Regions from separate parts of the Homo sapiens genome. Here all the other regions are linked to region 1. Evidence: promoter capture Hi-C in 16 types of primary human blood cells and fetal thymus (Javierre and others, 2016). All regions are on one chromosome and are shown on one strand. Each heading gives the region's core, a stretch centred on a gene start or on the middle of the fragment in contact. The rest is flanking DNA. Distances are from core to core; before and after follow the strand shown.

Region 1 (7,664 bases), core at 2,825-5,324:
CAAGATTTTATTTCAAATATTGACTTCCAAAGCAATGACCACAAAATTAAGAAATGGGATGAACATGACCATCTTTTTTTTTTTTTCAGAAAAATTTATCTCTGAATGTAGTTCAGTTATCTCTCTTGGAGATACTTAAAAAATACTATTTCACCAAAATTCTGACATATTTCTTTATAAAATATGCCCATACCTGGGTATATTCAGAGGTGTAACATTTAAAGAAGAAATGAATTTAAAATTTAGTTTTCATGCTTATATTTGCCAATAATAAAAATCAACACTGAAGAAAAGTGTGCCATTAAATTGCTAATAAACAAAAGTAAGCAATGCATGAATTGCTACATAATATCCAGAACATTATAGGTTTCTCCTTTTATAAAATGTTATAAACACTTCACAATGCATTATGTTAAATTTCATTACAAGAAAAAGACAACATCACTTAAACTATGTATTTAAAAATTAAAGCATCAACATGATTCAGTTATTAGTAATTGATTCTTATTCTTTTTTTCTGATTCAGAATAAAAATAAACTAAATATATTTAAAAAGCATTTCTGCAGACTATTAAGTATATTTTTGTAATGTTCAACAAATAAAAACAAAAAATATTGGTTTGCTTCTAATTGAACAAAGAAAGTATCCACCATCTTTGACATGTGCACTTTAAAATTCTGTGATCTTTGTTGATTTCAAATAAACAATTTCAAATAAACAATGAGAATGCTTAAACAAAAAGGAACAAAAAATTAGAACCTCTTCTTACGAAGTCTAAAAATTAAAGAGGCCTGAAAGTATGTAAAGTGGCATATTTTATAGAGATTTAAACTCTACTTTGATGTAGGTATTTAAAATCAAAACCAAATATTTTGGAGTAACCACTGAATCTTGCATGCATCCTGGTAGATATTCAAGCAAGTCAAGTCTATCACTTGCTCTTGTATTCACTTTCAGCCACACTCCCACTTACGAAAAAATAAGGACTGTGGCCATAATTTATGACACTAGTTTTATTTGTGAAATAGAACACAAACAAGGAAAGTTTTCAAATGTGGGAAGTGACAGGTAAAATGAAAATATCAGTAACTAACGCAAAAGAATACCAAAATAAAATGAACACTATACTTGTCATTTTCATTTTATAATTAAAAGCCCTGAAAATGTTTTTCAGTTAACTATTCAAACATCTAGAAGATTTCTCAAAGGCTTAACGTAAGTTTAAGTGGAACCTACCTTTAAAATTTGGCCTGATTCTTGCATCATATCCTGATGTCCTTCCCATTAACTTGTCCAAGAAATCTGAAGGAGATAGGGTCTGTGAAGGTTGTTTTCCAGACCTGGAGTCATGGTCTTTGCAGAAAGCCGTCCTAAACACATCATTAACTCTTTTAGCAACAATTTCATTTGCATCCCTTGAGAGCTAACGCTCACTGCATTTTTAACTTTACATTTTGGTAAAGATATTTGATATGTTAGTATGAAGAAAACTAGAAAAATCCAAACTCTTTGGCCAACTTCTGAACTTGTACATGTTCTAAAGTTAACTTTAAATGATGAGAACTATAAATCCTGAGTCGCGTCACCCAGGTTTCCAAACTTTAACCATAAGATGTTTGAGAACAGACAATGTATTTAGTTTTAGGTTGTAGATTTTATGTATATATAGTTAAAACTATTCAGAGAAATGAGATGATATTTTTTTAAATTCATGTGATTGTCTTAAAATCATTTCTATCTGACTTAAAAAAATTGTTTCAGCATTTCGGCCCTAAATATAAGTCATCTACCTTTTATAAGAAATATATAATAAGATGGGCAGAACAAACTTATTATTTCATTGCTTATTTTTCCCATCTGCTAGTTCTAATCCAACTATCAACTATTAATATTTTTCAATGTGATATCTAAAAGAGAACCTTCATTTGGACATTTCATTTCTTTTTAAAATAGGTCAACAATGAGCATGTATATGACTTCTATTATTTTATCAGTTATTTATATGCTTATATATTAAATGCTTATATAAGCATTTAAATTGTTGACTCTCTAAAAAATATTGATGAAAACACACTTCTAAATCATTTTGACTTTTTATCACCAAAACACTGAAAGTTGGTGAAAAATTTCTCAGATTTTCATTTTCCTGTTAAAAGTAATAAAGAGCTTATTAAACATAGCATATTTGGTTTGTAGCAAAATTAATTATTTCACAATACATAGTGGTTAACTGAAATTTCTTCCCTAAAGTATGTATTTTATAAGCTTTGTTTTCAATAGTTTAACAAATAGTGTCTTATGAATTCTATCACTAAGAAAATACCACATTCTTGCCAGCTTTTCAAAGAAGGGGTATTCAAAATAAGTGCAAAGATGATATAAATATTTTGTAGGAGTTAAAAATTGATATGAGCATGCATAAATACTCACATTCTCATATGCAGATTCATCTGATTAATCAAGTATTATTTGATTATGATGGTGGTGGTGGTGAGGATGATGATGATGATGATGATTCTAATAAAAACCAGCCTATATTTTTTCTTAATCATAGTAGGAGGTGTAAACCTGAAAGGAACATAGTGGGTTTTCCCAGTATTCATAGCATTATTACTATGTGTTCCATTTATCTTGGTTCTGTGAAAAAATGCCATAAAATTTAATGAAAATTAAATTTAGAGTCCTATACTTTGTTGTAAGAGCATCTCCTGTCTCTGCTCAGTCTTCCACTCTCTGTTATTAGATGACTATTTCACTTACTGGTAATGATTTGATATTTTGAGGTATCAATTGATTTGGCAACTATTCGTAAACCATGTAGAAAATGCAAGCATGAAAATAGTAATTTCTCACTTTTTAAAATTATGCATGCTCCACTTCTCATATGTACATAAATACAATTATGTCATATTAACTAAATTTTGGTAGGCAATCCATTTCCAAACAGATTGAATAGTAGAATATAGTAGTAAAAAGAAATTTTTGATATTTCAAGAAAATTCCTGAATTGTAGTCCTCATAGTATGCTTCTAGTTTCTGAAATATAACAGAAGTCCCAAGTTGGCTGAGAATTAGGGATCTTTTATATTTTATCTAAAATGAGCATGCTCCTGCCAAATTAATACAATCATCTTATATGAAAAACACTGCACCCAATAATCTCTTTAAATTACTTTCAGAAAAATAATTACCCTTATATAGAAATGTAAAGAGCATGCAACTCATCAGACTACCTTAATATCACGTTGGCTGTGAAAATGTGTGTTGAATTGCATAGAGTGCGGCTATGCATCATAAAACTTGCTTTTGTGAAAAATTTACCACCCTCCCACAATTATTAGGCGTTTTAAATGAACAAAAGATATCTAACTTTCCTCTATAAAATTAAAATAATATAGTCCAGAGCACAGATAAATACACAATTACATGACACATTCTCTTTTAAACAATTTAAATATCAACATGCAAAGTCGTTTCACCTACCTGAAGTGGTTTGTCTCTAAGAAAAATGCAAACAAGGCTGTCAAAATGTTCACTAGCTGCCGGTTCATTCCTGTTTCTGTGTTGCTTGTGGAAAATATCCCGAAATGATTCCAGAAAGATGCTAGGACAAAGTGTCTGTTTATTGTCCAGATTCAAAATTTGGCAGGAACCTAGTTTCCTTGAAAATCAAAAAGAGATTTGGTTTTGTACAGTTTGCTGAGAAAAAAGAAAAAGTGCCAGTCCTGGGCATCATGGTCAGGTCAAACCGAGGCTTGGGACCATCAGTTAACCCAGAAAGACAAAGCCTCAGAACTGATGAATCCCCCAGCTGCTTTTCCTGAATAATAAAAATGCTGCTACCTTAATCGCATCACCATGCAAAGGGAGTTGGTGACAATGCCATGCTAGATAGCTGTGGCTTTTGTTTTATATCTTTTCTGTTTAGCAAAGCCCTTTTTCTAGAAAATGTTTTCTTTTAAAAAGAAGTTGTAAATGAGAGAGAAGAAAGGACTCTGCGCGCTGGAGTGGGTGGGGGGAAGAGGGAAAAATTGCTGAGATCCTGTGCTGGAATGAGGGCTATAGAATGAGACGGAGACGTGATCTTACCCAGCCTATAAATTTCAGCACTCGGACAGCTCCAAGCTCTGAAGTGCGCATGTTTCCTTTTTCAGTTGCTTGGGGCGGGGGTCGGGGAAAAGCATTCAAGAGGGGACGTGCCTGCTGTTCGAAGGCAAAGAGTGACTGGCCGTTCAGCGAGGGGATACTGAAGGGGGTACGATGACAGCAAGAGGAGAAGAGAGGTCGGGAGACGGAGAGGGTGAGGGAAGTGGGGTCTGAGCTCCTGGAAATGCTAGGCTGTCGGTGGGTGGGCGGGACGGGAATTTGAAGCAGAAAAGGGAAGGGAATAAGGTTTAATCGTGGGAAAACGAAATTGGGGGAAACAGAGAACAGGATTCAGAGTACTGAAATTATAATAAGGGTGTGGACAGTTCACTCTTTGTCAGTGCAAGCCGGAGGCAAAGAGGAGTCCTGTGCCGAAGAGAAGGGAACATTTCCTTGGCACAGAGAAGCCCGCGTGCAGAAGAAGGTTCATGAAGATCGATAATTTAATTTAGAAGTCCTTTATGCCTTCCTCGCCTTTTTAATGTTTTCATTTGATTTTAGCCGCCTAGTCCCAAAGGATCTCTCTACCTCTGTACTAGGGAAAGCCCCTTCCAACTGAGCTTTCTTCAGTGGCTCAAAATCCTTGGGCATCCGCAAGTCACAGATTTGTAGAAAAGGAAATGAGACAATGGGCCGGCAGGGGGCAGTAGCAATCTTTTCTTGCCATGGTTAAAGGTTAGAGCAGGGCTCCATGTTAGAAATGGAGCAAGGAAAAGTGCAACTGGGAGTTTAGTTCATCTGCCCATTCCAGATGTTAATCACTAGGAACAGTCATGTAATAAAGTGCATATGCTATTCTCCTAAATTGGCTAAAGGGACTGAAAATAGTGGAAGTTCATAAATCTGTACAAAAGTCTGACGAGTAACCCTGCTATTTCAAATCAAAATTACAAATATTATTATTAATAAAAAAGAGGAAGGGTAGATAGTCCAATGCGGATAATTAGCAGCTTCTGGGAAGGGGGAATGAAAAATGCATGTCCTACCATAAGCTAGGAGAGTAACCTACTTTTTGTGGAATATTCCTTGTTAGTCACCTATGTGCTTTACTGGAGGTCTTAATTTTAAAACAAAATAATATGATTAATTTTTACTCCGTAAATGACTAACTTTGGATCAGTTTAAATATCATAGTAGAGTAACAATGAATTCTATGTTTTTAAGAAGTAGATTCAGAGAAAAAAGATGGCAAGTTCTTTTTACCTTTTAATGTTAATATAAATCACCAGAGGATCTTATTGAAATGCAGATTATGATCCAGTAGGTCTGGGGTGGGGCCTGAGATTCTGCATTTCTAAGAAGTTCCTAGCTGAAGTTGATGCTGCTTGTCCACAGTTCACACTTTGAGTAGCAAGAGTCTATATGCCCTTTCATAAGATGTCTATCCCAGTAAGACAGTGAAAATACAGGAATCTCTTTTTAGATGAAATGCAGTAGTGCCCAAGCATTCTATTTACATACAAAATCAATTCTTCAAATATGTTTTCTTAACTTTCAAAGCCTAGAGAAAATGATTCAATTTAAAAGAAAAACAGTATGGTGTAGTGTGAGACATCCCTGGACTGCAGCTTCAAATCTGTTCACTTCCAAATTCATCCACATGGAAACTCTAGACCTGATTTTATCCCTGCTGTCCTGACCCAAAAAAATATATAAAATCAATTCCTGGAAATATTTCTTCAATTGGTTCTACATGGAAAAATAGCACAGATTTTTTTGTGTTCAAGATTCTTTCCAAAAGAAAATTAGGTATAAAGATAGAAGAAAATTATTTCTCTCAAATTTAAGGTTGTAACGATGCTTAAATAATATAGTCTTTGTAAATCATTTCTCTTTTTTTTTTTTTCCCGAGATGGAGTCTCACTCTGTCACCGGGCTGGAGTGCAGTGGCGTCATCTCAGCTCACTGCAACCTCCACCTCCCGGGTTCAAGCGATTCTCCTGTCTCAGCCTCCTGAGTAGCTGGGACTACAATCACATGCCACCATACCCAGCTAATTTTTGTATTTTTAATAGAGACAGGGTTTCACCATGTTGGCCAGAATGGTCTTGATCTCTTGACCTTGTGATTCGCCCACCTCAGCCTCCCATAGTGCTGGGATTACAGGCGTGAGCCACCGCGCCCAGCCGAATCATTTCTTTTAACAAGAGTTGTGTTATTAACCAGGAATAGGATGAGTAAGGAAATCTGTGACAAAGGAGACTCAGGCCAGCAGCATGAAATCACAGCATTATATTATTGTAGAGTTGTAAGGGACATTAGAGAGGATCTAGTTTAGCCTCCTCATTTGATTTCTCAGCTCTCCTAAATTTGGATTCCAGCCCTATCAATCCACAGAAACAGCTCTCACTAAGTCTGCCAGTGAATTTCTTGTAACTAAGTCCAAAAGACATTTTTCTGTTCTCATCTTACTTGACATTTCCATGGTACCTAATGTCATTGGCCTTTTCTTCCTCCTGGAAACACTTCCCTCTATTGACCCTGTGACACAGTGCACTCCTGGATTACCTCCTATTCTGTCTTCTTGGCAGGCATATCCTCCTCTACCTGGCCTATAAAAGTTGGATTTCCTAAAGGCTATATTCTAGGCTGTCTCCTCTTCTTGCAGTACACTCGCTTAGAAAATATTATGGTAATATAATTTCCATTATCATTTTATGTACATGACACAGAAATGTATATTTCTACCCAGACCTATACATCCAACTGCTTTCTAAACAATTCCTAATGTATGTCTCAAAAGCTGCTTAAACTCTTCATGTCAAAACCGAACTTCTGATAATTCCTCCAACTCCTACTCCTATTCTACTGTGTCTATTTCATTGTTACCAACCAAAGGCCAAGGCATCATCTCCATCATCCACTATATCTAGTTCTTCACCAAGCCCTATTGATTTTTTTCTCCTAAATCTTCTCACTTCCCTCCATCTCAACCTCCATGACCCCAGTTGAGATATCTTTATCTCTTGCCTGTACTGCTGCAGCCATCCTCTTACTAATCTACCTGAACCAACAGCTGGTCTTCTACTACCTCATCCTGTATGCTGAAACCAGAGTGATTTGTTCAGAATCAGAATCTGATTATGTCACAGCCCCTGGTTAATACTATGGTTCTCCATTGATATTTGTGTAGAACAAGGAAACTACTCAATGACCTAAAGGTTCCACATGGTTTGGCCCATGCCTACATTGTTCCTCATCTCATCCACTAATCATCTCATTTCTTCCCCTGTAGCCATATTGGTCTTTTTTCTTACTCCCTAATGCTTACCGTATTGTTCATGAAGTATATCATGTCCCCCATCTTTGTCTGGTTAACACCAGCCTATTTTTCAAATCTCTGGAAGGCCTTTCCTGACCTGCATTACTCTAACAATTCTATTACAGGCCTTCATAGTGCTCTCCAACTCTGACTCAAGGAGCTCGTCATCATTGTATGTATACATGTGTATGACTGTTTGCTTATGTAGCAAGCTTTGCAATGGACAGAGACAGTACATGCTTTGGTCCACCATTA
Region 2 (7,664 bases), core at 3,735-6,234, 490 kb before region 1:
CTTCAGATTCTTCATCCATTCTTTTTGTAGGTTATTTTTTTCCATTTTGACAATTTTTAAGAGTCTTTTTTGTGTTATTTATACTAAACCACTATCTGTTCTCTGTGTTACAAAAATTTTTTCCAGTCTATTGTTTGTGTATTAAGACTTTGTTAAAATATTTTTTGTAATACAGAGGTCTTTATGGAACATTTTCTGGATATACTATATTTTGATGAATCAAAGATGTCAAAAACCTTTATTATTTATCACTAATTTTTTTAAAAAAACACTGGCAATTAAATTGAAACAATGTTTTGTCATGAATTCAAATTTTAGTTGTAGAAGGAACTTTTTCTGATCTTTAATATTGACAGTATTATTGTGGGACACACTAAAGAACATTGGGTTTTGTTAGCATTGATTACTTGACTCTTATATTTCCTCTACTCAATTATATGTCCCTAGAAGTTTAGCATCAGCTTCTGTTCAGAGTCAGCAGGAAATCTCTGACACATTGATTTTAGGCTCCTTAACAATAGCGCCTCATTGGTATGAGAGTGGCCTCTCATACCTTTGAAATGTATTTTATCTTTTCCAAAAAGTTTGGCAATTTCTCCAGTCTCTATTGCAGGGCTTGGTGTTGATAGGCAATATTTTCTCATATATCTCAACTGCAAAATGTAATGTAGTTTCATCCACTTGTGAGCATCTGCCTTCCTGGTCCCATAAAGCACTTGGTTGTTGCTCTGTGTGAAGTGTGGATCTGGTTATTCTTACAGATAGTAATGATGATTTGCTTCTCTGTCACAAAGTCACATCCCTATACTGTTTGTATGCCTCAATAAGTATTTGTTAAATGAATTAAAGAAAAGAATGACTCCTATACCTTATTTCATCAAAATTTTTCTCCCTCATAGAGTCTTTTAAAATCACTAGTCTAGATTTTACCTTTTCTCTTTCCCTTCCCAAATTTTTAAGTATAATATCTTTATTGAAATATAATTCACATACCTTACAATTCACCAATTTAATGTGCAGAATTCAACTGTTTTTATTATATTCATAGAGATGTGCAACCACCACTACAATCAATTTCAGAACATTTTCATTACCTTTAAAATAAAGCCTTGTTATAAAACAGAAAGAAAGGAATGTTTGTGTCTTGCTTTCATTTGTGAAGGATAACTTAACAAATAAAGAATTCCATGTTGGCAGTTAAAGGGAAAAAAAGAAACCTTCATACCCATTAGCAGTCACCTCTAGTTTCCAGAACTCCCAGCCCTACACACCCACTAGTTTATGTTCCATCTTGCATATTTGCTTTCCTGGATGTTTCATACAAATGGAGTCATATAGTATGTACCTTTTGTGACTGGCTTCTTTCACTTAGCATATTTTTAAGGCTCATCCATATTGTAGTATGTATTAGTATTTCATTCCTTTTTATTACCAAATAATATTTCTTTGTATTGATAGACTACATTTTATTCATGCATACATCAGTTAATAGCCATTTGGGTTGTTTCTACTTTTTGGCTACTATAAATAATGCTCCACGTTTTTGTGTGGACGTATTTTTTTATTTCTTTTGGATACATACCTAGGAGTAGAATTGCTGGATCATATGGCAATTCTCTGTTTAACTTTTTAAAGAATTGGCATCTCACAAGATGTTTAAGGTAATATCTTTATAAAAGGCAGCAGAAACAAGGAGAAAGATGATAAGGGAAGGGTGTTCAGAGGGCAATTACTATCAATGTGTAGAAAGCCAGCTGATGAATACATAATTCCTTAAATAACGATTGAGCACCTGCCATGTGCTAAAGTGCTTGTCTGGGTGCAAGGGCTACTGCAAGAGAGGATAGACAACAAATAAATTAGGAAGTAAATAAACAATGATTTCAACTAGTGAAAAATGCCAAGAAAATAAAACAAGATGATATGATGGGGGAGGACAGGAGAGGATAACATTAGATAGGACAGTCAGGAAGGACTTTCTAAAGAAATCTCTTTTGAGGCTGAGACCTGAAAGGTAACAAGGTGATCTTATTGCAAAGCAGTTGCACTAATTCACTGAAATATTTTATCTTCATTTCACAACTTAGGAAAAAATAAGAGATGAATAAGAGTATATCATTGCCTGCTGCTATTTGAGTGGAAAACATGAAATGATATCCTTTAAAACTTTCTATAAAGTAGAATAAATTGCCTTTTGTGTACATTTTTCTATATATAAAAATGTACATAAATTTATATATAAATATATAATATATAATATGTATTACATTATATTATAGATTATTTGTATATTACATATTATAGATAATATAATATAATACAATAATATAATATAATAATATAATATGTATATGATATTATCATATTATACATTCTATAATTGTATAAAATATATAATTTATATATATTATATATGAATATATATTCATATATTTATATTAACTATAATATATAAATATATATTTATATATTTATATACAACTATAATATATAAATATATATTTATATATTTATATACAACTATAATATATAAATATATATTTATATATTTATATACAACTATAATATATAAATATATATATTTATATATTTATATATAAGTATAATATATAAATATACATTAATTATATATAAACATATATAATATATATAATATATAATATAAAAATATATATAATATATAATATAAAAATATATATATAATTATATATTATATAAATATAAATATAAATTGTATAAATATATATTTGTATTTATATAATATATAAATATATAAATAATTTATATATCATAATTTATTAGATAATTTATAATATATATTTAGTCAAATATATTATATATTAATTATATATAATATATATTATATTAATAATTTATATTATATTATATATTATATATTATATGTTATATATATATTATGTATTATATACAATATATATTATATATTATGTATTATATACAATATATATTATATATTATGTATTATATACAATATATATTATATATTATGTATTATATACAATATATATTATATATTATGTATTATATACAATATATATTATATATTATGTATTATATACAATATATATTATATATTATGTATTATATACAATATATATTATATATTATGTATTATATACAATATATATTATATATTATGTATTATATACAATATATATTATATATTATGTATTATATACTATATATTATATATTATGTATTATATACAATATATTATATATTATGTATTATATGCAATATATATTATATATTATATGCAATATATATTATATATTATATGCAATATATATTATATATTATATACAATATATATTATATACGATATATATTATATATTATATATTATATACGATATATAGTATATATTATATATTATATATTATATACGATATATAGTATATATTATATATTATATACGATATATAGTATATATTATATATTATATACGATATATAGTATATATATTATATACGATATATAGTATATATATTATATACGATATATAGTATATATCTTATATGTTATATACGATATATAGTATATATCGCATGTTATATACGATATATAGTATATATTATATACTATATATTATATATATTATATATATATTTGGATTTTGGAGGCAACACATTCCTCATTTGGGTGTGTTATTCTTGCCCATTTATCTGGACCCCACCCACTTTTTAGTGGGGTCCAGAACAGGAGAAGGCTTTGCAACAGGCCTAGGCTGTTGTGCAAGCTGCTCTGCCACTTGGGCCATATGACCCAGCAGATCCAATGGTGCTTGAGGTGGATATATATATATAAATATATATAATATATAATATATATATAAATATATATAATATATAATATATAAATATATATTATATATCTTATATCATATATTATATATATGAATTACATATATAAAATATATATATAAATATATATATAATATATATTAATATAATATAATATGTGTTATTATGATATATATTATAATATCATATTTAGTAGAGATGGGGTTTCGCCATGTTAGCCAGAATGGTCTCGATCTCCTGACCTCGTGATCCACCTGCCTCGGCCTCCCAAAATGCTGGAATTACAGGTGTGAGCCACCGTGCCCCGCTAAAATTTCAAATTAAGTGTTTCTGAGCTTAATTCTTCCTATCCCAAGAATATGGCCCAGCAGATCCAATGGTGCTTGAGTAGGATATGTATACATATATATATATATATATATATATTATATTATTGTATTATATTATATATATTTATTATATTATATATTATATTTATATTATATGAATATATAATATATATTATACAATTATATATATATTTATATAATATATATAAATATATAAATATATATATATATATATATATGAATGGGATGTCACTTTCCTGCCTACACTGGTCTGAAACTTTTTGCTTCAAGAAATCCTCCTGCCCTGGCCTCCCGAAGTGCTGGGATTACAGGAGTGAGCCACTGTACCCAGCTAATGTTCATTTTTTCTATCTCTTTTATTTTCTAGGAATTGCAGTCATTACATTTGGTAGGTGTGAACTATCATGTCCCTATCTTTATTGTAAAGTAAATCCCATGATTGAGGAATCTTCTATAGTCTCCTTACTGTTTATGTACTCAATCTGTGGTTAACATTCTTTGGTATATTATTTGTGGAAATTCTCAGCAAGAGACAAAACAGCCTCTTTCTACAGTAGTAGTAAATCCAGGAAATGAAAATACGATGTGTTATCAGCATCCATATTTGTCCAAGGATGTGGACCAAAAGACCAAAGTAATTTGAGTGTTCACTAGCAAAGAAAAGATAAGCTTTGTTCTGGGTAGAGCCACAATAACAACAATTAGTCAGGTTTCTATCAGGTTACATTCCACAAAGCATATCCAGGATGGTTTGATTAAAGCTGAAGCCTCCCTAAAGCTGCGAAGCTGAATTTAGATATAGAATTGCCTGAAGGTAAGACAATAAACTGAAAAGCAACTGTGATTCTATCTTAGTCTGTCTCACACCCTGCCTGTTTTAATTCTTCCCTCCTTGCCACTATCCCACTTTTTCTGGAATTTATCCCTACAAAGACCATTTTGGGAAGCTTTTGTTGGACAACACCATTCATTCATTCAGCAAACATTTATTGAGCACCTTCAGACAAACTGTCTTCCCACACAGATCTTACATTACAGTGATGGGGGAAGAAAATAAACAAGGAGCAAATAATACAGTTTTTAAAAGGGATAAGAACTATAAAGGAAAAAAAGAGCAAGATAGTGAGGAAGAAATTGAGGATGTGGGGTGAAATTTAGGTTGGTCATGGAAGGTCTACATAGCACTGCTCATTGCTCCACAAGACCTTACCACTCCTTTCTTTGCTTGAAGAATATTGGTTTCCCTCTAAAGCAAGTGTCCATATGCTTTAGTGAAAGGCAGGCCCATCTGCACCTCAAGGGTTAAATCTTAACTGGTTTGAGCCTATTGCGGTGGTTCTATCTCTTTTGCCAGTGATTGGTTTAGGACTGGGACAGCGAGGCAATCTTGGTCAATGAGATTCAAGGGAAAGTTGGCTGGAGACTTCTGGAACCATTGTCCCCCATTTTACACAAAGATATGAGGAGAATATATTGTCTCCTTCAGGCTTTAGATGTTTGAGGGGTGATGCTTGGAGCTTCACTTGGAGTGAAGCTAGAGGCTTCTTGCAACTATGAGAGGGAAGACTGAAGATGGAAAAGCAAAAAGATAGAAAAAAATTTTAGTCCCAGAAATCTCTGAATCACTTAATTTGTGTACTCTGGAGCCACACTACCTCCAGACTTCTTATTATGTGACGTAAATACGTTCCCTTGTTATTTAATCCATTTGAGTTAGTTTGTCTATTGCTTATAGTCCAAGGCATCTCTATAGAAGATAATATGTGAGTGGAGATGTGAATGATAGAAGAGCAATTCAATTGAAAGTCATCTTGCTCTCTCAGTTCATCACTATGTGATCTTCCAAGAGAACCACAGGACCAAGATATGAGGAGACCTAGATGACTGTTGTAGGACCCCAGGCATCTAGGCAATGTCTTGTTTATAATTGCCACATGGAGGAATCCTAGAGTCTGGAAAGCTTAGCAAAGTTCATGATTTTATAATTGGCTTTGTTGTAAGCATAAGTGATTTAAAAAATGTGTAAGATATTCTGGGTTAATGATAGTCCTGGGAGTCTGGATCCAAAAATGAACATCCTTTTGTAGTAAAAACTCAATGTTATCAAGTTCTCAGGACTGTTCAGATTTTATTGTACTTATCTAAGAATACACTCGTTACTGAAATTCCTATAAGAGATATGACTTTATTTCAAATCATAAGCTAACAACAGTCAAAGACTACGGGTATTCATACCTCAAATAAGAGTAGAGGTAATGCTGATTACATAGAACATATGGGAAATATTGAGGTTATGGAAGATAACCAGGTTATTATTCAAGTGCAGTCTACTCATAGGAATGCCATTTATTTACTTATTTATTTTAAACCCAACTCTCCAGATTTTAAAAAACTTAAAAATCCACTCATCTTTGTCTTTACTTATTTTTTGCAAAAGTAATATATGGATTCATTCTATGTGGACAAAATAAGACAATATCAAAAAAAAGGCCTTATTAATTCTCATGCACTCCTATATGCAGACATAATAATAATAATTAGGATTAATTGAGAACTTAATATGCACCAGAGATTGTTAAGTGCTTTTATATTATTTTATTTAATCTCATACCCACCTCATGTGGTTGGTACTGTTATTTTTCCTGTTTTCCAAATAAAGAATCTGAGGCCCAGAGAAGTTAAGAAACTTTCCCAAGATTCCTCATAAGTGATAGGGAGGGGATCAAAAGCTGGGCAGTTTAATTGCCGGGCACATGTTACTAAACTGGGTGCTTTTCTCCATTGATATAAATCCTCTTCATTCCTGTCATAAACATGAGTCATCTTGCATTAAGCATGTATGTAGGTGTTTGTATTTACTATTTTTTGACAGATTAGAAGTTGGTGAATAACAAATGCCAAAAGATACAGGGCACAAAATGGAACTCTGAGATGGTTGATGAAAGATGAGAAAGATGCAAGGAGGAGCAAAGGAAGAAATGATTGGGGAACAAACTAAAATGAATGAAGGCGATTAGAGAATTAAATGTGTAAGCACTATGATAATCATGGAAACAAGAAAGGATGCAATGAGGTGGTGACTCTATACAATTTCTGAAAGGGTCAGAGACTGCAGAGAAAAAGGGATTTTTAGCTCTCTTCATGCCACATAATGGTATTGTGTAGTTGTTTTGAATACATTTTATAGACAAAGATTCCTAATCCTGTGGTCAAATAGCCCTTGAATTCTAGATACTTGGCTGAATTGTACTGATTATTAGGTGATGAAAACATTGTACAGTGGAATCTACAACATGACTATTCCCAAGAGGGCAGTCTAAATAATGAAGAGGGCACAGTTCTATTCCTTGGCTAGTAACAACAGGCAATATCCATAGCAACCACAGCAGCAATCTCTTCATAAAACCTCATGTGTATTGTGTGTGTGCTTGTGTGTGTTTAGAATGTATTCAATAAATATTGACTATCGTGTTTAGAAAAAAAGTTATGA
Region 3 (7,664 bases), core at 2,090-4,589, 450 kb after region 1:
AATAGTAAGCATAAAGGTGTTTATGCATCAATAATCAAAGTAGAAGAAAACTAAAAATAACGTATGCCTAACAGAAGAATAGTTGAAAAAAGTCACAATATTTCAATTTAAATACCATTTGGCCATTAAAAACTATCATACTAAAGAAATATATAATACAAGAGATTTTGAAATACCATGAAAAATGCACAGTTAAGTAAATAAAGATATATATATACATATGTGATGCAAATGCATGTGTATATATACAGAGAAAGACATAGGGAAGTACTCAAAAATTGATATAATCAGGTTTTTTCTCTTTTTAAAAATTTAATGCTATTTTATATTATTTTATAATAAATGTTTATAAATTGGTATTTAAAGCACAATTATGACATATTTTGTTTAAAATGTTGACTGTAATAGACACAGTGCTAAATTCCTGACACAGATAATTTACCCTCTAATTTAGTCAAACCTCCGAGGAATCCAATAATAATTTAAGGCATATTCTGCTACATCTCTCACCATGCTGGCATACAAACACATGTATGTGGGAAAGAGGGCCTATTTTTTTCTACAAAACTTATACTCTACATCTTCCCCTGAAGACAGTTTTCTCCCCTTACTTGGTAATATATCACTCCATCTCTCCAGGTCAATATACATAATTTTTCTAGTAATAATTCACACTAAGAATTTGCACAATGAAAACGGCCATTTTTCTATTGTGAAACATTCAAGTTGTCTCCAAGTTTACAGCTACAAGAAAAAGCTGCCTGGATATACATATACCTTACGTTATGGTATGTTTAATTTAATAGGATACATTCCCAAAGCTGGGTTGCTAGATCAAAGACATATCCATTTTTAAAATTTTGACAAATATTAAAAGATAACTTTCCATAAAGGTTTTTTCATTCACCTTCCCATCAGCAATACACAAATGTCTGTTTCCGCAAATTGTTACTAATACTGAATGTTACCAATCTTTTAGGTTTTGCAATTGGACAAGTTAAGGTTGTTTCTCAAATCCACATTCCCTTGAATATTAAGGAGATTAAGCCACCTTTCATTTATTAACCATTTGCATTTTTCTATAAATATGAACATTCTTTTTTATTGTGTCATTTTTCCAATGTATTTGTGCAGGTTCCTTGTAAATTGAAGGTATTAACGTTTTACCTGTCATATGACTGCACATATTTGGCCCAGTTCATTTGTCTTCTCGTTGTTTTATTATACATTCTTGCATTAAGAAACATTTTTAAGTTTGTACATCTATTGATCGTTTTCTTGATTCCCTCTAAGTTTCCCAACTTGATTCCTAATCTCTACTCACCCACAAGTTTACAGAAACAAATATTTTTCTAAATTTTCTTCTAATATTCATAAAGATTTGATTTCACATTGAGCTATATTAATTCACCAGGTATATATTTTTATAAATGGTATAAGGTAGGCATTTATATTAGTTTCCTTCCAAATGGATAGCAAAATTATACCAACATAATTATTTATTTTCCTATTGAATTATAGTGCCAGATTTTCCAAGATTAACTTCTATATTATTGGATATGTGCTGAGGTTCTATGTCCCATTGTCCTGGTTATTATTTCTTATGCCATTGACATTTTGTTTTCATTACCATAGAATTATTATAAGTTTTATCTGATAACACAAGATCCTTACCCCAATTATTCTTCTGAAACATAAATTTTTTTGGCAACTATCATTTCTTCTGCCTATAATTTTTCTCATTCTAAAAATGTCTTCATTTGGATTCTGATAGGAATTATTTTGCGTTTACATATGCTTGGCAAATAATGACATTTATATAATAATGTCATTATTTAATAATTAATGAATGTCAGTATTCTAAGTCTTCCCAACAGTACATGGTGTGTTTCTTCATTTATTTAGGTATTGTTTCATGTCCTTCAACAAAATGTTAAGTTCCTTACTCTTACTATCTGATATAATGTAGATATTTTATAGCTTGAAGTAATATTGTGAATTAAATTTGTTATCCATTTCTTACAAGTTAGAAACTGATGTTTTAGACATGTCTTGTGCCTTGTTCCTACACGCATAGACAAGACCAGTTCAGCAAGAGGGCCAGTCTAGATATGTACCAGTAAGTGCCTCATCCCAGCCAGGATACCCCTCATCTATCTTGGAGTCATATGATTTACATTTGGTTACTGAGCAAAGAATAATACAGAACACTCAGGCATGAACACAAACCCCATTCATCATGCCCAATGTCTGCAGTCTGCCAGATCAGCCTGGTCTAAGTACTGTTCTGGTCATAGTTCTGTGCAACTAGAATGAGGGAAATTTCCCAGAAGTACCTGGGAGCATTGCTAACTAACCAGCCCTAGACTGGCTGTGGCAAGCTTTCATATAATCATTTGTTGAAAAGTTCCTTCTCTGTTGGTTTTGAAGCTATTAAGTATGTTATATGCGTGTGTGCATGTGTGTGTTTACTTCTAATATAAAACCATTTTGGGGATCTATTATTAGGGGAAAAATCAGCAACCTGGTCAAAAATTCATTTTAAAAAAGACTAAAGACATTTCACCTAAATGTCTAAAAACATAGAAGTAGTTAAATAAGCTATGGTACATCCTTCCAGAGGAATATGATATATCCATACAAAGAATAATTTCAGTCTATATAAAAGATATTTCAAAGAACATTTCACAGTATTGCAAACGCTCATGCTAGCATATTAAGTTCAAGAGAAATCTTTCAAAATTGCATATATAATTTGATATGCTTTTAGAGATAGAACAGAAAACAAAATAGGAAGTGTATACTAATATGCTATATGCAAAGGGATCAAAGTACTTTTCATATGTGTAAAGGAATTATACTGCTTTTTATTTTCCCAATTTTTACAATAATCATAATTAGGAAGAAAAAACTTTAAAGGATGCACTGTCTTTTACATTCATACTTATAGGATGATTCGGGCTGTTTGGACTTTCACTTAATCTTTTTTTTTTCCTCATTTACAATATGTATTAGTTTCCTAGGGCTGCCATAACAAAGTACTGCAAACCAGATTGCTTAAAACATCAGAAATGTATTATCTCAGTTCCTGAGACTGAAGTCTGAAATCAAGACATCAGCAGAGCCACGCTCCCTCGGAAGGCTCTAGGACAGGGTCCCGCCTCACCTATTCTAGCTTCTGAGGCTTGCCAGCAACGCTTGGTGTTCGTTGGTTTATAGATGTGCCATTCCAATCTCTGCCTGCGTCTTCACATGGCTCTCTCCGGTGTCTGTGTCCAAATTTCCTTCATCTTATAAGGACACCAGTTACTGGAGTAGGGCCCACCCTAATCCAATATGACTTCTTCCTAACTTAATTACACCTGTGAAGACCGTGTTTCCAAATAAGGTCACATTCACAGATTCTGAATGTTAGATTTTAACATATCTTTAGAGAAGACACAATTCAACTCATAGCATCCCACCCTCTTGCCCATCAAAATTCATGCCCTTTCCACATGTAAAATATGTTGAACCCATTCCAACATCCCATCTCGGGGATTTGGGGGTCTCTCTCTTTCTCTCTCTCTCCTAAATTCTTGTGATTGAATCTGTAAACTAAATGCAAACATGACTATGTCCAACTACTGGACAACCAATGCCAATATAATCAGATCTTTATGAGACTGAAATTAAAGCAGAATGGTCAGCCCAGACCTTTGCTCCCAGAAAAAAACCACTATTTCTGTTAGTGATATAAAGCCAAGGGTGAAGTCCTCACTTGGCAGAAGCCCTCATCTCTCTCAAAGAACTGTGGAAAAAATTTTATCAAGGGCTTCATGGGCCAGCACGAATAATGTGGATTTGCTATCTGGGCCACTAAGCATTACTTTGACTATTTGGCCACCAAGCAGTTCTCCCAGATTTTAAAATCATACTGTTTAGCCAAATGTTTCCATGTCTGCAGAAAAATTAATATCACCCCTTCAGGAAGGGGGTTATAATTCACAGTTCATTCCTAACAGCAGCATGAGCTAATTAGCCAAACTCAGAAACAAAATAGAGTAGTTTTTATTTTAAATCTATTTAATAAATATGATATCCATAGCTGCTGAGGAAATAGCCACAGCTAGGATATTATTATGAACGTAAGTTAGCAGAGCAGTTTGTCTAACCCACAGGTAAGCAAGTTTTTAGATTTTTTTAAAACAGAAACCAAAGTTGTCAAGGCAAAAATTACATGCAAAAATGCTGAGGTATTGGTACAGAGCCAGGAAAGTCAAGTTTTTGAAAATTAAGTCAACAGATTACAAGCTTGGATACAAGTTACAGGTTTCAAGATTGATGGAAATATGTTGCAGTGTACCAGAAATTAGAGTAAACTCCAAGTCAGGAAGCACTAAAATCCACCCAACTGCACAAATTCTATGTAGCCTTGTGTAAGCAAGGCAAATGCTCCAGGCAGAACCAGCTTCATAATTTGTGAGACCCAGTGCAAAATCAAAATGCAGGGCCCGTTGCTCATAAATAATTAAGAATTTCAAAAAGGTTGAAAGAGAACATTAAACTAAACACAAGGCTTTTCTAAGCACAAGACCCTGTGTGACTGCACAGCTTGCACATGTCTCCAGGTTTCAATTTTTTAATCAGTGAAATGGGAAAAATCAAGATTATATGTGCCTTGCCTCCTTCTTGGAGTCATTGGGGTGACAGAGATAATATTAGTAAAAATGTTTTGCAAGTTTTAAAGTTCTTTATTCAGGCCAGACATCATGGATAGATAGCATGAAAACATAAGTAGGGGAGTCCCTTGGAAACCCCCTGCCCACTAACAGGAATTTAATAATTTAATAAAGAATAGCCAAATACTTCACCTATATTTGGTGCTTTATAATTCACAAAATTGAGATTGAGTCCACTCTAAGAAGTTTTCACTAAATCAAAATAAACCAGTTCACTAAATTGTAATGTGATTCCTTGGATTGGATGCTGGAACAGAAAAAGGATATCAGTGGGGTAACTGGTGGAAACCCATAAAAACTCTTATGTTACTGTTAGTTAACAGTAACATAGTGCTGTTAATTTTTTTGTCTTGACAAGGCACTAGAGCCATATAAGATTTTAACATTACAGAAACCTGGGTGAAGTTTGTGCAGGAATTCTCTGCACTATCTTTGAAACTTTTCTGTAAATACAAAATTATTCCAAAATAAAAAGTTTGACTAAAAAAATAAAACTAGTCCAGTTTCTGCGTAACTGGGAGGAAATGATGATTCTTATTTACTTGATGGCAAAATAATGATTAGCTTCTTTATTAGAATATAAAAACCTCTCCTAAGTTATCTTAGATAGCTGTTTAAATTACATGTACCTAGATACAGAAATTTGATAGATAGATAGATAGATAGATAGATAGATAGATAGATAGATAGATAGATAGATAGATATGGGGAGGGAGTGGGGGGGAGAGGAAGGGACAAGGGAGAAAACATAAATGGATGATGGATAAACAGAAAAATAGAAATGGCTTCAAGTTTTACTGTGCAGGTGTATACTATACATTTGAAATATTTCTAATTTACCCAAAGATTCTTTAATTCCACAATCTTCTTCCTTTAACAGGCATCACTTTATATTTTCTATTAATGTTTTTCTACTTGCAAGATTAATTCCTGCTTATTCCAAAAAATACAGAAACAGACAATCCTCCCAAAATTATCTATAATCCTATCCCTGAGAAGTCGACCCAGTCAACATTTTAACTCATTTTCTATTACACCCTGTGTGTGTGCATGCATGTGTACATCAAGCATCCTGTAGAATAATGGAGGCCATTCTGTATAAACTGGCATTTACAAAATTACATTTCATGGAACATTGGGTTCTGGCGACAAAAAATTTGAGGACATGGTGTACCATATTCTCCCTCTTGAAGATTCACTCTGCAAAATAGCATAGTAAAAGCTATGCTGCATAACTTTTTAAACTCAGATTTTTGTCAATGTATGAAATTCCATTATCCAACAGAATAATCCTTGGGAAACTCGAGTATATATGGTTCTGTTCCAGATTTTTTCCACTTGATATGATGTTATGAGTATTTTCCCGTGTTACCATAAATTAATCGCAAATATCATTCTCATGGCTACAAATATCACATCATATAAGCATACCATTATTTATTATACCAGCAGTTGGCAAAACATTTCTGAAAAGGACCAGGTAGCAAATATATGAGGCATGATGGGCCCTATGATCTCTGTCCTACAAGTCAAGTCTGTTGTTCAAGTGTGAAAGTAGCCATAGACACCGGGCGCAGTGGCTCACGCCTGTAATCCCAGCATTTTGGGAGGCCGAGGCGGGTGGATCACCAGGTCAGGAAATCGACATCATCCTGGCTAACATGGTGAAACCCCATCTCTACTAAAAATACAAAAAAATTAGCCAGGCGTGGTGGCGGGTGCCTGTAGTGCCAGCTACTCAGGAGGCTGAGGCAGGAGAATTGCTTGAACCCAGGAAGTGGAGGTTGCAGTGAGCCGAGATTGTGCCACTGCTCTCCAGCCTGGGCGACAGAGCGAGACTCCATCTCAAAAAAAAAAAAAAAAAAAAAGTAGCCCTAGACACTATGTAAACAAATGGATGTGGTTATGTTCCAATCACACTTTCATATAATTTTCATGTCATAATATAATATTTTTTTTAATTTTTTCAACCATTTAAAAGTGTAAAAAACCATTCTTGGCCCACAGACTGCACAAAAACAGGTGGCAGAGCCTATTTGTCCTGCAGACCATAGTTTGCCAACCTGTGTTCTGTTTTGTTCCCCAATTTTAAAAATTATTATGTTGGGCATTTTGAAAAATAAATCTGTGTCTGAATTTCCAATCAGTTCCTTTAAATAGATTCCTAATAAATTTTTAGAAGTGAACAACTAGGCCAGGGAATGTATGAGGAACTGGATGCATGTGGCTAAACTGATTTATTGAAATGATGTACAATGCTCAACAGCACTGTCCAGAAGTGTCTGTCTCACTGTAATCATGCCAGTTCTATTACCATATTTTAACTTTTGATAATTTGATAGATGAAAATTAATATCATGCTTTACCATTCATTTCTCTGATTACTAGTGAGGTTGATCAACTTTTCACATTTATTGATCATGTTCACTTCCTCATTTGTGACTTATCTGTCATATTCCATTTTCCCATGTGTTACTAAAATATTGTTTCTTTGTTAAAGTTTACATGAGTTTTTTTTTTTAATATACTGGGCCTATTATTCCTTCTTATCCTTAGCAAATGCCTTTTTTTTTTTTTTTTGAGACAGGGTCTTACTCTGTTGCCCAGGCTGGAGTGCAGTGGCATGATCACGGCTCACTGCAGCCTCGACCACACAGGCTTAAGCGGTCCTCCCACCTCAGCCTCCTGAGTAGATGGGGCCACAGGCATGCGCCACCATGCCTGGCTAAGCATTTAAGTATCTGTAGATATGGGGTCTTGCTATGTTGCCTAGGCTGGTCTTGAACTCCTAGGTTCAAGCAATCCTCCTGCCTCGGCCTCCCAAAGTGCTGGAATTACAGGCATGAGCACCCAGCCAGCAAATACTTTCTTAACCTGTCAACATTTTGAGTTTGATATTTTCTGTTGTAGAGATAATTTTGAACTTCATACATTGATTATAGA
Region 4 (7,664 bases), core at 1,714-4,213, 430 kb before region 1:
TACTTTCCAAAGCTTTGATTTAATGAGCTGGAAGCCTGCACCTGCTTTCCTAACCCTTAGCAACATTTAGAATTCTCTGAACCTAAAAGCATTTGTCATCTTGTACTATTTCTTTCATTATTGGGAGCAAGGCTCTTCTGTGTCAAATTCCCCCTGTGAGAATCTGGGTTTTTGCTGTTCTTACCAAGAGATGGGCAAACTACAGCTATTGGCCACATTGGTTGCCACCCACTTTTGTAAATAAAGCAATGTTGGAACAACAGCTATGCTTGTGGGAAAACACTGTTTCTCTACACTCACACAACCCTTCTGACCCCAAATATGTGGATTTTTTCCCACACCAAATAATTCTGCAATTCTCTGGACACCAGCTAGATGTCCTACAATTCAACTCAATTCTGACACTACCTGGAGTTAGTGTCAAATCCCACAAGTTAAGGGCTCAGTCCCATAAGACTATGCCCACCTCAAATGCCAGTCACAAGTCCAGCCATCCACACTTCTGGACGACCAGCTATAAATTGAGGATTCCCACGGCCCACTCCTCAGGTTTGATAATTTGCAAGGGTGGCTCAAAGAACTCAAAAAAAAGCACTTCACTTAATGTTTACCAGTTTAGTATAAAGGATACAAATCAGGAAGAGCCAGATGGAAGAGATGCACAGGGCAAGTTATGGGGTAAGGGGGCACATGGAGCTTCTGTGCCCTCTCTGGGTACACCAACCTCCCAGTACCCTGATGTGTTCACCAATCCTGACATTCATCAAATCTCTTTTTTCAAGAGTTTTTATAGAGCTTAATCTCCAGCTCCCTCCTCACCTTCCCAGAAGTCTGTGGCTGGGGTAAAATTTCCAATCAGTTGGTTTTTCTGGTGACCAACCAGCCCCATCTTGAGGATATCTAGGGACCCCACCCTAAGTCACCTCATTAGAGTAAACTCAGGTCTGATTAAAAGGGGCTCTTTATGACTCACAAAAGACACTCCTATTACTCAGGAAATTCCAAGGATTTTATGAGCTCTGTGGCAGGAACTGGAGACAGAGACCAAATCTATTTCTTATTATACCACAGTGCTTGTTTATTCATGTATTGGCTATGGCTGTTTCTGCCCTACAGCAGCAGAGCTGAGTAGTTGCAACAAAGAGAGCATGGTTCACAAAGCTGAAAATGGTTATTTTCTGGCCCTTTACAAAGTTTGCCTACCCCTGGTTTAGACTACAGGTTTGCAAATTAGAGTACACACTTCTCAAGATCATAGTTCAGGGGGAAAATTCAAACTTCTATTTAAGATTATTGTTCTCTAAAAAAAAAAGGGAAGGGAAACAGGATTTTCTAGTACGTCACATAAGGGCTTACACTGGCCCCCTCATTCCTTCCATCTGTCCTGTCCATGAGACATCTGGAGAGAGTACTGGAATCCCACAATGAGGAGGAATGGTCAGTGGTGCCTCTAGTTTCATTTTTTTGCTATCAGTGTATGGTGACAGATGGCCTCTGCAAATGTCTGTCTACAGATTGTATTATCTAGTGGTAACTGACTTAAATCTCTGAAATGTATAAGTGGCTTTGAAAGATACCAGTAAACAATAATATTAATAAGATAATACTAATAATGCAAGCATCAGAGAGAAAATAAGATTTACATCAGTCACATGAGTAATGAAAATCAATCAAAGCTGATGAAAAATCAGCTAAGAAAAATTTAAAATCATCAAGATTACCTGAAATAAGGGTTTTCATACAGTATGATTAAGAATGGAACTTGTTAAGCATCTATCATGTTTAAGATATTAGTGAATTAAAATATGAAGCATCCTAATTAGCAAGACATTTAGTATCTATTTTTCTTCACCTTTTTCATATTAATTTGCAAATTTGCTTTTATTTGTAATGTACATACTATATTAAACTATACTATAAGCATATAATTTAAAAATAAATACATAACCGAACATATAACAGTAGGTGGGTACTCAAATTTCCCTTTATTTTCTACTTAGATCAGTGCACAATGAGTCGAAATTGGGCACCGTTAGTCTAGGCTTCCATATAGTGGCGCTTCTTTTGTATTCCACAGGGAAGGGATAGAAGCAGAAAAGTTTCTGTGGGATGGAGTTCCTGATGGCATTATTGAGAGTTGTTTTGGCAAAAGTGGTGCTGGGAAATGAGTAAATGATGAAAGAAGTTCAGACACAAAGTTTAGTTTAAAGGAAACGGAAAAGGGGGCAGTTTCTAGGAGTGAACGTGAGATAGAAATGGAATTAAAGGAATTTTTTATTTTTTTCCATACGAAAGAGACTTGATCATGATTAAAAGCTAATAGAGCTGGGCGCGGTGGCTCATGCCTGTAATCTCAACACTTTGGGAAGCTGAGGCAGGCAGATCACTGGAGGGGAGGAGTCGGAGACCAGCCTGGGCAACATGGCGAAACATCCCCCCCGCCCCCGACCGGCCGTCTCTACTAAAAATACAAAAATTAGCTGGGGGAGTGGCGCATGCCTGTAGTCCCCATTACTTGGGAGGCTGATGCAGGAGGATTTCTTGAGCCTGGGAGGCAGAGGTTGTATTGAGTTGAAAGCCCGCCACTGCACTCCAGCCTGGGTGACAGGAATGAAACCTTGTCTCACAAAAAAAAAAAAAAAAAAAAACGGTAATAGAGCCATTGCTTAAAAATTAGCTGTGTTTTGGCTGGGCGTGGTGACTTACGCCTGTAATCCCAGCACTTTGGGAGGCTGAGGTGGGCAGATCACCTGAGGTCGGGAGTTCAAGACCAGCCTGGCCATCATGGAGAAACCCTATCTCTACTAAAAAAATACAAAATTAGCCAGGCATGGTGGTGCATGGCTGTAATCCCAGCTACTAGGGAGGCTGAGGCAGGAGAATCGCTTGAAGCTGGGAGACGGAGGTTGCAGAGAGCCGAGATCATACCATTGCACTCCAGCCTGGGCAAAAAGAGTGAAACTCCGTCTCAAAAAAAAAAAAAAAAAATTAGCTGTGTTCTAATATTAACACCATCTTATTCACATATTATAACACTGGACCTCTTAAATTGTTAGACAAACTTCCTGTGGTCCCTGTGTGTGGAGGAAGAAAATGGGTTGAAATTGTTAAATAATAGCACATGCTGTCTAGTATATGTATATATATGTATATATATATGTGTGTGTGTGTGTGTGTATATGTATATATATGTATATATATGTGTGTGTGTGTATATATATATATTTCACTATTCACATCTATTTAGTATTCAGCAAATATTTATTGAACATGTACTATGTGCCATACCCTGAGAGATGCTTGGGATACAGAGGTAAACAAGATCAACAAGGCCCCACCATATATTCTTGTGGAGAAAACAGACTGTAATCAGGTTAAAATAAATAATGTGATTTTAGATAGGGTTAAGGTCTCTGAAGACAATAAAGCAGGGTAAAAGTGTAGAGAGATTAAGATATCAGGGGTGGGAGCATTTGAGAAGGGGTAATCTAGGAAGGCCTTTCTGTGAATCAATGGTGGTCAGAGGACTGAATTATAAGGAAGGGGGCATCCCCTGGGAGGAGAGAATTTCAGGGAGAAGGACCATAAAATACAAGTATGATACAGGAACAATCTTAGCGAGGAAGCCAAGATTGTCCCCAAAAAAACTGAATGAAGAAATCAGGGAAAGGCCTGATATTGGGGAAGTGGATGGTGGCCTGGTATGTGATGTACCATGAAGGGCCTGCCAAGGGATTTATTAAGTGTACTATAGGAAGTCATTGGATGGTTTTATGCAGAAGAATGGCATAATTCTACCTGTACTTTGTTATAAACCTTGCTCAACTTTTGCCAGTAATATCTTTCCCACTCCAACTTTAATGAAGAACCAGTTTTGTTCTAAGGGTCCAGCTGTCTATCATAACAGATTTTCCATGGGATGGAGTCTTGCTTTTCTTGTTCTTGGTGGCCAATGAGTGCAGCTTTGGAGAGAGTTATTAGGGTGTGTGATTCTATCATGATGTCTGCCTCTTGCCAACATCCGTTGAAAGCAGTCAGTTGAAGGGTGACATGAGCCACAGAAACTTAGTGGCACTTTGCACCTGATTAAGTCAGGAGAAATGCTCCTGGCAGTACCAAAATGTCCATCACCTGCTCACTTGCTGATGCATGAGGGAGAGAGGGGAACCTCCAAGAAAGGAGTTAAACATAAAATTCAATTCAACTTGATATTGTATCTGAGGACCCATGAGGTCAAATCAACCACAAAAGAGATTCCTGATAATCCCAGGCCAGATACTTGGTGTTTGTTAAGAAGCTGGCATAGGCCAGCCATGGGGGCTCATGAGTGTAATCCCAGAGCTTTGGAAGGTTGAGGTGGGAGGATCACTTGAGGCCATGAGTTTGAGACCAGTGGGCAACATAGCCAGACCCTGTCTCTACAAAAAATAAGAAAATTAGCCAGGCATGATAGCACATGCCTGTCATCCCAGCTACTGGGGAGGCTGTGGTGGGAGAATCACTTGAACCCAGAAGGTCAGGACTGCAATGGGGTGTGATCACAACTCTGTACTCCAGCCTGAGTGACAGAGCAAGACTCTGTCTCTAAAAGAAAAAAAAAATTGAAAAAGAAAAAAATAAATTAAAATTTTAAAACCCATAAATATATATACCTACTATGTACCCATAACAAGTAAAAATTTTGAGGTTGAACCTTTAAAAAAAATAATAATAATTTTAAAATAAAAATTTAAGGCCAGGCATGGTGGCTCACACCTGTAATCCCAGCACTTTGGGAGGCCAAGATCACCTGAGGTCAGGAGTTCGAGACCAGCCTGACCAATATGGAGAAACCCCATCTCTACTAAAAATACAAAATTAGCTGGGCGCGGTGGTGCATGCCTGTAATCCCAGCTACTCTGGAGGCTGAGGCAGGAGAATCGCTTGAACCCAGGAGGCGGAGGTTGCAGTGAGCCGAGATCACACCACTGCACTCCAGCCTGGGCAACAAGAGCGAAACTCCGTCTCAAAAAAAAAAAAAAAAAAAAAATTAAAAAGAAATGACATCTCACAGAAAGGCATGTAAACCAGTGGAATAGACATTGGAGTGTGAGCTACTGGCTCGGAATGTGTCAAAACATTTGTAATAACCCTTTCCTACCTAACCTGGTTTTGTTTTATTTTTATTCATTTTGCATAAAAGTTTGCCTCTCACTTTGGCTTTAATCTGTTGATGAGAAGAGATGCCTCAAAGCTGGCTTCTGGCACTGTTGTGGGGCTTTTACAAGGGAAATCTTTGAGTCATTGTAGTAAAATATCTACAGAAAAATTACTGGACCCAGAAATTATGGAATGGCCTGCAAAATCTCAACAGAATGCAGAGGGTGCATGTGACCTGTCTAAATTCAGCCTAAGAATGCAGATGATGCTTCTAACCTCAATGTTTCTGATTTTCTACACCATGCAAAAGGTAGTTCTTCTGGAACTAGCCTCAGGCATAGATATGTGTTTAATGATGGAATTATTCAGTTTAGTAACTGCTATGGTCTGAGTGTGTCCCCTGAAAATCCATATATTGAAACATAATCATTAATGTGATCATTTTAAGAGGTAGGGTTCTTAGGAGGTGATTAAATCGTAAGTGCAGATCCCTCATGAATGATCTGTAGTGTGAGGTGTGAGGGAGCTGTTTGCCTCTTCTACCATGTTAGAACACAGGAAGAGGGTACCATCTAGAAGAAACAGTCCCACACCAGACACCTAATCTGACTACACCTTGATCTTGGACTTCCCATTCTCCAGAATTGTGAGCAACAAATTTCTGTTGTTTGCAAATTACCCAGTCCAAAGTATTTTGTTGTAGCAGCAGTAGAGACTAACACAGTGACTGACATGGAATGTAGTGGGCAAGGGAAATGCTGGAGGGGCAAGCTTATATAGACTTCTCAAGACCTCTTTCTCTGTGTGTTGTGAAAGATGATGGCTGACAGTTAACAAATACTATTTTTTTGAGATATTATAGGGTTCAACTATAATATTTCTTAAGGTTTACAAGCCTGCTCAGTTTATTCTCAAAAACTGTTTCTCTTCTTTCCTGGAAGAATAAAAGCACACTCCTTCAGTTTTAATAATCCTGATAACAGTCCTGGAAAAATGAGTTTTAAAAATATACTGCCAGGCTGGCAATGGGAAGTGGGAATCTCAGGAAATGAGGAGGGCTCAATCTGGCTTTCACAGTGAGGATATCTGATGATCCTCAAGTTCTATTTTAGAGGTTGCATGGGATCAGGGGAACAGAGAATAAAGCCTAGGGAAAACTAAGGTGAAGAGCTTAATAGGAGATACGGAAGATCTTCAGGATCATCCATAAAACTAGGATCCTGAAGAGCTTCACCTGCAGGGTTAGGATGAACAAGAAATAAACCTACAATGCAAAGAAGACAGTTAGAAAACTTACCTGCCTCCACCTTTTTTCCTGGATAGAAAAAAGAGAAGGGAACTAGGCATACTGATAACATGCCTAGAAATCACTACATTACTGTTACATATGGCAACTTGGCTAAAATCTCAAAAATATAACACTGATGAAAAAATAGCAAGTCACAAAAGAACACATGTAGTATTATTCCATTCATGTAGAGTTATACCACACCAATCACATTGCATTAAGAGCCCACCCTGCTCCAGTATGACCTCATCTTTACTGATTATGTCTACAATGACTCTATTTCCATATAGGGTACATTTTGAAGTGTTGGGAGTTAGGAATTCAGCATATCTTTTGGAGAGACACAATTTAACCCATAACAGCACAGCACAGTCCCCCACAACAAAGAATTATCCCATCCAAAATGTCAATAGTCTTCCTTTTGAGAATCCCTGGAGTAAGGCAATAAAGCAAGCAAGGGAATGATTAACACATAATTCTGAATACTTTCTGGGGGTAGAGGAATAGAGAAATATGAGACTGGAGAGGAGTACACAGGGCATTTCAAAGATCTTAGAATGCTATCTTCAGCTGAGTGATGAGTACACAGATATGCACTTTCTTATCCTGAAATATATATTACCTATAATTTTTGCCTTTACGATGAAATATTTTTAAGATTATAAAATTCAAAAATTATGAGGATACAGGTAAGTTATAAGAGTATAGAAATAGGTATAGGCCAGGTGCGGTGTTTCACGCCTGTAATCCCAGCACTTTGGAGGCTGAGGCGGGCGGATCACTTGAGCCCAGAAGTTTGAGACCAACCTGGGCAACATGATGAGATCTCCTCTCTACTAAAAATAAAAAAAAAAATTAGCTGAGTGTGGTGGCTCATGCCTGTGGTGCTACCTACTCAGGAGGCTGAAGCAGGAGATCGATTGAGGCTGAAGTGAGCTGTGATCACACCACTGCACTCCAGCCTGGGTGACAGAGTGAGACCCTGTCTCAAAAAAAAAGAAAGAAAGAAAGAAAAAAATTGGTAAAGAAGAAACTGGGACTTTTGATGAATTTAGTCGTTCATTCATTTATTTTAGGTTCACATGAGGTTATGTTTAAATGTGTTACTTTGGGTTTCAGCCAGGAGTAATGGTGAAAAATTGACCATGTAGTTTGCCAGGTGTGAGCTAGCTGAGAGTTGCTTCTTATAACCATGACACATGTTTTCAAGATTCCCCAGGGGTTAGGAATCCCTGAT

Evidence for each region. The method cuts DNA at HindIII sites, captures the fragments that hold promoters and counts their contacts. A CHiCAGO score of 5 or more calls a contact.
Region 2: a fragment that was not itself captured here is called in contact with the fragment with the promoter of GLRA2 in region 1 in 1 of 17 cell types (neutrophils); the score reaches 5.0 in neutrophils.
Region 3: a fragment that was not itself captured here is called in contact with the fragment with the promoter of GLRA2 in region 1 in 4 of 17 cell types (M0 macrophages, M1 macrophages, erythroblasts and 1 more); the score reaches 12.0 in M0 macrophages.
Region 4: a fragment that was not itself captured here is called in contact with the fragment with the promoter of GLRA2 in region 1 in 2 of 17 cell types (neutrophils and M0 macrophages); the score reaches 7.0 in neutrophils.

The regions. Positions count from the first base shown.
Region 1 is chrX:14,525,946-14,533,609 of GRCh38, reverse strand. It overlaps GLRA2 (glycine receptor alpha 2), which reads right to left and starts at 4,074. Exons shown (of 9, transcript NM_002063.4): 1 at 3,485-4,074; 2 at 1,238-1,371. The coding sequence starts at 3,552. The HindIII fragment of the contact is 5,355 bases long and covers 2,269-7,623 here.
Region 2 is chrX:15,018,584-15,026,247 of GRCh38, reverse strand. No RefSeq gene overlaps it. Among named protein-coding and RNA genes, the nearest start is that of MOSPD2, 150 kb to the right of the region's middle. The HindIII fragment of the contact is 278 bases long and covers 4,846-5,123 here.
Region 3 is chrX:14,074,696-14,082,359 of GRCh38, reverse strand. No RefSeq gene overlaps it. Among named protein-coding and RNA genes, the nearest start is that of GEMIN8, 49 kb to the right of the region's middle. The HindIII fragment of the contact is 1,912 bases long and covers 2,384-4,295 here.
Region 4 is chrX:14,957,378-14,965,041 of GRCh38, reverse strand. No RefSeq gene overlaps it. Among named protein-coding and RNA genes, the nearest start is that of MOSPD2, 88 kb to the right of the region's middle. The HindIII fragment of the contact is 5,898 bases long and covers 15-5,912 here.